2 separate regions of the Homo sapiens genome follow, and region 1 is linked to region 2. Evidence: promoter capture Hi-C in human tissues and cell types (Jung and others, 2019). All regions are on one chromosome and are shown on one strand. The core of a region is centred on a gene start or on the middle of the fragment in contact, and the rest is flanking DNA. Distances in the headings are between cores, read along the strand shown.

Region 1 (3,968 bases), core at 1,128-3,627, 290 kb after region 2:
AGTTACCCAAATCCCCAAATAGCACACCTCTCATCTCCTCTCCTCTCCCCTCCCCTCCCCTCCCCCAACTTCCTTTCCTTTTCTCTTTCTTTTTTGATGGAATCTTGCTCTGTCGCCCAGGCTGGAGTACATTGGCCGCAATCTCAGCTCACTGCAACCTCCGCCTTCCGGGTTCAAGTGATTCTCCTGCCTCAGCCTTCTAAATAGCTGGGATTACAGGTGCCTGCCACCACGCGTGGCTAATTTTTTTTTTTTTGTATTTTTAGTAGAGACGGGGGTTTCACCATGTTGGTCAGGCTGGTCTTGAACTCCTGACCTTGTGATCTGCCCACCTCAGCCTCCCAAAGTGCTGGGATTACACACATGAGCCACTGCGTCTGGCCCTTTTTTTTTTTTTTTTTTTTTTTGAGACAGAGTCTTGCTCTGTTGCCCAGGCTGGAGTGCAGTGGCATGATCTCGGATCACTGCAACCTCTGCCTCCTGGGTTCAAGTGATTCTGATGCCCTAGCCTCCCGAGTAGCTGGGATTACAGGTGTGCACTGCCACATCTGTCCAATTTTTGTATTTTTAGTAGAGATGGGGTTTCACCATGTTGTCTGGGCTGGTGAAGGTGGTAGGTTTCAATGACAGCAGCATAATGCCGTGGGAGTTGGGAGGAGGGAATGATCTGACTCACTCTGGGGCAGGTCTTCGAGTTAATTCTCCAGTGGATTCTCCTAGGCATCGTGTGGTCCGTCCTCAGAACTGTGCCTCCCTAATGTGGCTGAGTGGATTCACTACCCACCCCATGCTTGGGCTCTGCCTCGACCTCTCCCTCCCATGCACAGCCAAAGCCGCTCAAAGCTGCTGGTTTTCCTTGACTCTGGGCTTCTCTCCATCACCCACTGCCTCCCAACAGAACCCCCGGTCTCTGCATCCTCCTGTTCCAGATTGCTAGGACCCCAGCTGCCCATCAGGGACCCCTCTAAAATAACTTAGTTGAGTCATTGTTTGCCTACTTAACAACCTGTGATATTCTCCATTGCTTATGGGATAAAATCTAAACTCCTTGGCTTGGCATACAAAGTCCTTTACAGTCCAGTTCCTCCTCTGCTGATATTTCCAAGCTCTTTGTCCCAAGTGCCCATGCTCTCTCCCCACCTCCCTTGCACTCTAGTCCCCTCGACAGACTTGCTCTCTTGCGGGAACATCACCCACTTCCACATCACCCAGCCTTTGTGTGTGCTGTGTCTTCTGCCTAGAGCACCCTCCCTTCCCGTAGTCTGTCAGGCAAGCTCACAGCCATTTCTCGGGATCCATTCAAATGTCACCTCGCTTGGGAGGCCTTCCAGATCCCCCCCAGATTTTCTTGGGTTCCCTCAGCATCATGACCTTTGCCTTTCATAGCATCTATCATGCTGAACTTACACATTTACTTCCTTCTCTGGACTGAAAGCTCATTGGTGGCAGAGATCCTTTACATTTTTGTATTCTGAGTGTCTGGAACACAACACGTAGTCAGTAAAGACGTGTTATTGCAAATGTCCACACATCTTGTGTCTGGCTCAGAATATGGTGTTTTAGGCCGGGTGCGGTGGCTCCCAGCACTTTGGGAGGCTGAGGCAGGCGGATCACCTGAGGTTAGGAGTTTGAGACCAGCCTGGTCAACACGGTGAAACCCTGTCTCTACTAAAAATACAAAAATTAGCCGGGTATGGTGGCGGGCACTACAGTAACTGTAATCCCAGTTACTCAGGGGGCTGAGGCAGGAGAATCACTTGAACCCAGGAGGCGGAGGCTGCAGTGAGCCAAGACCGCGCCATTGCACTCCAGCCTGGGCAACCGAAAAAAAAAAAAAAATTAGAAATCTCTGGAGTCAGATCTGGGTTGTGGGCCTTGCTCTGCCTTGTATCAACTATGTGGCAAGTGACTGACCTCTACAAACCTCAGATTTGTGATCTGAGATTAATCAAGGGTTAATTGAGAAACCAGCTGAGTGCTAGCACCTAGTAAGTGTTCAGTAAGTGACAGTGATGGTTATTGCTGAGTTTTGAATGGAGGAGCTGCCTTAGAATCAGGAGACCTGCGCCCCAGTTCCCATTCTGCCCCACCTCCCTGTGTCACCCTAGGCAGGCCACATTTCCTCCCTAGTTTCAGGGGCCTGAAGCAGATGCCCTCTTAGGGCCCCACAGCCTGACATGCTGTAGGGCCTGAGAAGCGGCGTCGTGGAGGACGAGATGTGTGAGGGCAGCAAAGAGTGCTATGTGTCCAGCAGAGGGCCCTGCCCGGCCTGTGGCCGGAGGCTGGGAGGGAGGGCAGGCGAGTGATGCCAGACGCCTGACTGGAGGCGGATCCAGCCGGCCAGCTGCCTCTCTGGAGCCCAGCTCTTGGGCCCCCTGCACTCACCTGCTCTTCCTGGGCTGGCTGTCTCCTGCTCATCCAGCCATGCGGTGGCTGTGGCCCCTGGCTGTCTCTCTTGCTGTGATTTTGGCTGTGGGGCTAAGCAGGGTCTCTGGGGGTGCCCCCCTGCACCTGGGCAGGCACAGAGCCGAGACCCAGGAGCAGCAGAGCCGATCCAAGAGGGGCACCGAGGATGAGGAGGCCAAGGGCGTGCAGCAGTATGTGCCTGAGGAGTGGGCGGAGTACCCCCGGCCCATTCACCCTGCTGGCCTGCAGCCAACCAAGCCCTTGGTGGCCACCAGCCCTAACCCCGGCAAGGATGGGGGCACCCCAGACAGTGGGCAGGAACTGAGGGGCAATCTGACAGGAGCACCAGGGCAGAGGCTACAGATCCAGAACCCCCTGTATCCGGTGACCGAGAGCTCCTACAGTGCCTATGCCATCATGCTTCTGGCGCTGGTGGTGTTTGCGGTGGGCATTGTGGGCAACCTGTCGGTCATGTGCATCGTGTGGCACAGCTACTACCTGAAGAGTGCCTGGAACTCCATCCTTGCCAGCCTGGCCCTCTGGGATTTTCTGGTCCTCTTTTTCTGCCTCCCTATTGTCATCTTCAACGAGATCACCAAGCAGAGGCTACTGGGTGACGTTTCTTGTCGTGCCGTGCCCTTCATGGAGGTGAGTGTGTGTTCTGTTTGAGCTCTGCTGGGAGGCTGCAATCCAGGGAAGGGACTCAAAGTCTCCATCAGGTCTTTGGAAATGGAATTTGTGGGTGTGCAAAACCTGAGTCTTGGAGCTCTGACTTGCTCCTCCTTTACCTTGGAGAAGGAGACAAATACGGTATTGGTTTCTGGTTGCTCTCAAGAGAAGTAGGCAGGCCAGGGGGACAGGCGGGTGTGTGGGGCCCCTGGGTTCCAGCCCCAGCCTGATCTTCTGCTTCGGGAGCAACCTCAAGGCAGGCCTTTGCCACTTTCTCCAGACCCTAAGCTGCCCTCTCCCTTCCTCAGCCCTTCTCCCCTGTCCCACCCAAGATACCTCTGTCCTTTGTTGTGACTCCTCTTCTTTCCTCTGTACCCCCTGCCGCTGCCCTGCTCCCACAGCTTCCTTCGCTGCTCCTCCGTCTCCTGCCTCCTGAAGGAGTGCCTGAAGGGAGAGCCCAATTTCCTTCACACCCCTCTGGATCAAGTCAGCATCCACTCCATGAGAATACAAGCACCAGAAGCAAAAGACCGCTCCGTTCTTCCCTCCCTGCTGGGATTCTCATTGTTATCGTTGTCATTTCCATCAGCAACTTCCTAGATCCTCTCTGAAAGGGATACCTGGTTCTGGGCACTGGAACTAATGGGGGGCTCTAGTCTTAGCTCTGCCACTGACATACTGGGCGTCACTGGGCAGGTTGCATTACCTCTCCAATTTCTTTATCTCCCAACCAGGGCGGGTAGACCAGATGGTCCTTCCAGCTGGCCTGTTTCACAGTTCTAAAGTATACCACTATGCCCTTACTTCTGGTAGCGTCTACGATAAGTCCATGGGTGTCAAAGGATATGTAGAGCATAGAGAGACAACTTAAAACACTGCAGAAACATACTGAT
Region 2 (3,572 bases), core at 832-3,331:
GAAGTAACCTGAAACCCTAAGCTAGAGTCTCCTGACTCCCATGGTTGGGGGTGGGAGGAACCCCTGCTCGCACATTATGGACATAGAATCCTTCACCGGATCTCAAAACATCCAGCCCAAACATCAAGGCTCCGGAGTCCTCCATCTGGGTTGCTGCAGTGTTTGAAAACATACCACCCTCTTGACTTTGCTAAATTTTCTTCTTGGGGTAAAAGTGAACTGACCTATTAGAAGCTGTTGTAATCAAGTTCAACTTCTTTTGGCCACTTCAAGAAAGTAAATAGGCTTACTATTCCCCATTGCAAAATTGAAGGGTCCAAGAAGCAATCTTTTCCCTATGAAATTGTAGTAACATAACTCATCTCTGCCCTCTTAACATGGGAGGTGACAAGTGTGTTGAGAACTCTCTTCAAGCCAGTTGCAGTGGGTGTACCTGTAGTTCTAGCTACTCTGGATGCTGAGGTGGGAGGATCACCTGTCCAGCCTGGGCAACATAGCAAGACCCCCCCAACTCAAAAATAAATAATTGAGAAAGCTTTCTTTTGAAGTAATCTTCTGATGAGATGACTTAATCCCTGATTGTTACCAGTCCAGCATCCACAGTCTTGGAAGTGACCTAGGATTTGGTAACTCGTTTCCTTTGCCATGTGAGAATGAACTCACTTGATAAGGGTTCCTGGGAACCATTTTGAAGGCACATAACCTGAACAGCTCACTAAAAAATACCTGTTTCTGTTTGCTCTAGAACCTCCCATTCCAACAACATTCTATCCTTTCTGCCACTACATGCTTGCCACTCTGCCCTGCATTTTTTTTAATTTTTATTTTTTTTTATAGACAGAGTCTGTATATCTTGCCCAGACTGGAATGCAGTAGCTATTCATAGGTGTGATGACAGCACACTACAGCCTGGAACTCCTGGGCTCAAGTGATCCTCCTGCCTTGGCTTACATCTTGCTTTTTCTTCTTTTTCTGAGACAAGATGTCACTCTGTCGCCCAGGCTGGAGTGCAATGGCGCAATCACTGCTCACTGCAGCCTCCTCCTCCTGGGCTCAAGTGATCTTCCCACCTCCACCTCCCGAACAGCCGGGACTACAGGGCGTACGCCACCACGCCTGGGCAATTTTTGTATTTTTTTGTAGAGACGAAGTCTCGCTATGTTGCCCAGGCTGTTCTCGAAATCCTGGGCTCAAGCGATCCTCCTGCCTCGGCCTCCCAAAGTGCTAGGATTAGAGGCGTGAGCCACTGCGCCTCGCCACACCCTGCATTTTTAACACCTCACTGGAGCGCTCATCCTCTCCACCTGCTCCGCTATTCAGGAGCGGCTCTGCACCGTAGGCCATTTCCCACGACCAGCTGCTGACAACCATATCATCAAACTGCTCTTGTTCTCGCACCCCTTAAATGTCCAGCCATAATTTCTCAGGGAAAAAAATTTATACATTTTCAACAAATAGGATTCATTCTCAAATAGTCACATACAACACTCACTCTGGAAGAAACTCCCTTTCACATGCCGGTGTCTCCCCTGCCCAGCCACTTCCCAGCTTTGAGGTTGGGCTCATCTAGGCTGGAAAACCAAGGGACTGGGCCGTGGTTTTCCCACTTCCACTTCCCAGTTTGCTTTAGTTTATTTTCCCCCCTCTTTGGATTCCTGAGGCTAAGATGAAGAGAGTCACTTGAGCCAACTTTTTTTCAGTGTTTGGGGGGAAAAGAATGTGGTTTAAAATAGGGGCTATTTGTGACCCAGACCTCTCTCCTTAAAGCCCTCTACATCTATTCCCATCCCGCCTCCTCTCTCCTAACACCTGAAAGATGCATGAATATAAAGTCATATATCATGAACTTTATTCCAAATGAGATTGCTAACTTACTGTGCAACTTTAGGAAAGCCCCTTAACCTGTCTGGGGCTCAGTTTTCACACAAATCCAGAGATCCTTGCAGAGAAAGGTGCAGTTCTCGTTCAGGCAGCAGGAGGCGCTGTCTCTGGAGGCTTAGATTCATTCCCCGCCCTCCGCCCGCTCCCGCCCGCCTCTGGTGCGCAGGCGCGGCTTCGCGGATTGGCCGCGCGCGGGGGCCGTCATTCGGTGGCGGGTCCCGGCCGCGGGGCTGGCGGGCTGAGGGGAGAAAAGATGGCGGCGGCGGCGGCAGCTGGTGCGGCCTCCGGGCTGCCGGGTCCAGTGGCACAAGGATTAAAGGAAGCGTTAGTGGATACGCTCACCGGGATCCTATCCCCAGTACAGGAGGTGCGGGCGGCTGCTGAAGAACAGATTAAGGTGCTGGAGGTGACGGAGGGTGAGTGAGGCGGGACCGTCACGAGGATGGCTCAGCCGCACAATCCGCTGACCGCAGCTCCGTACCGGCTGGGGACATGGGGAGCCTGAGCCAGTTGGAGATGTGGGCGCCGAGAAGTGGAGCAGGAAGCGAGAGATTGATGTCGCTGGTGGTTGTGAAAGTCCGAGAGAGGAGAGGCGCGCCTGAAGGATAGGGTCGGGGGAGGTGGAGCCTGGGAGTGGGGGAGGGAGGGTGGAGACTTGAAAAGATAGATGGAGCCTAGAATCTGCAGGGGACGGAGATGGAGCTAGACTTGGTGCTGTTGGAGGAAGTAGCGCGGTCGGGGAAATATTTTTTGAGTCCAGGACCAAAGTCTTTCGCTGTTCTCTTCACCAGCTGGATTGTACTGGGATAAGAGTAGGGGGAGCTATTAGTAGGAGTGGTGAAGGGTAGGGCCTCGAAAAGGCGGCTATCAAAGCTTAATAGATGTCATCAAACAAGTTTCTGCCTCTGAGTTATAAACCTAGCTAGTTGTTTGTACTCTTCGTGTTTTCCCAGAAATTAAATGCATATGCGATTGCTTCACTGTCCTGACCATACTTAACGTTTATTTTAAAAATAATTTGCCCTTATTAAATACCTTTGTGCATTTCTGTTTGGAGGAACTGATCATCCTTTGTTTTTGATTCTTTGTCTCCGTCCTCTATTGTGTGCTTTAAAGTGATGGAGAAGAAAATAAACCATTGGTTCGAGATTTTCTATCAATTTCCTGCCGCGTGAGCCTTTCACCGGGTCCAGTGTAGCTACCACAAAGAACAATTTAATCCAGAAACAGGAGGAGAAATCTTCTTGGTCTTTGTGTAAGAAATATATCTGGTCAGAGCTTCACTGGAACTCCAAATCCTCAGAATCTCCCAACTCAGGAATATTTCCACCACCACTTAAATACTTCATCAGAGATATGGGAAATTGTCCCATCACACACCCATCATATTCAAAACCTTCAGTTAGCTCTCCTACTGGACGTATTTCTATTGAAAAGAATTTAGAACAAATCTCTCTTAAATTTAGTTTACATTCTTTCACAGTATGAAAGAGCTGTTGAAAACAAATTTTCTTCTGTTGGAAATATGTTAAGATTTGGGATCTAACAGGCTAAGGACCATTTTGAAGGCCCACTTGTAATTGTCATTGTTTTATAAAATATCAGATCTATACAGGAGAAACCACTGGTTAGGAGAAAGCTGTTTGAGAACCATGTATAAACTAATCTAAAGGAATTTTTAGCGGCTTCTA

What was found. The method cuts DNA at HindIII sites, captures the fragments that hold promoters and counts their contacts. A contact is called where the count stands out against the background at its distance.
Region 1: a contact is called between the fragment with the promoter of GPR37L1 here and the fragment with the promoter of IPO9 in region 2, in 2 of the 25 tissues and cell types used here (IMR-90 fibroblasts and heart left ventricle).

Annotation. Positions count from the first base shown.
Region 1 is chr1:202,120,540-202,124,507 of GRCh38, forward strand. GPR37L1 (G protein-coupled receptor 37 like 1) reads left to right here and starts at 2,378. Exons shown (of 2, transcript NM_004767.5): 1 at 2,378-3,054. The coding sequence starts at 2,425. LOC105371683 (a long non-coding RNA gene) reads right to left here. Exons shown (of 3, transcript XR_922422.3): 2 at 3,412-3,519; 3 at 3,048-3,194. The HindIII fragment of the contact is 29,285 bases long and covers 1-3,968 here.
Region 2 is chr1:201,827,076-201,830,647 of GRCh38, forward strand. IPO9 (importin 9) reads left to right here and starts at 2,082. Exons shown (of 24, transcript NM_018085.5): 1 at 2,082-2,297. The coding sequence starts at 2,135. IPO9-AS1 (IPO9 antisense RNA 1) reads right to left here and starts at 2,484. Exons shown (of 3, transcript NR_046696.1): 1 at 1,876-2,484. RefSeq lists enhancers at 681-1,195, 1,196-1,709, 1,866-2,160, 2,172-2,381 and a silencer at 1,882-2,121. The HindIII fragment of the contact is 5,409 bases long and covers 1-3,572 here.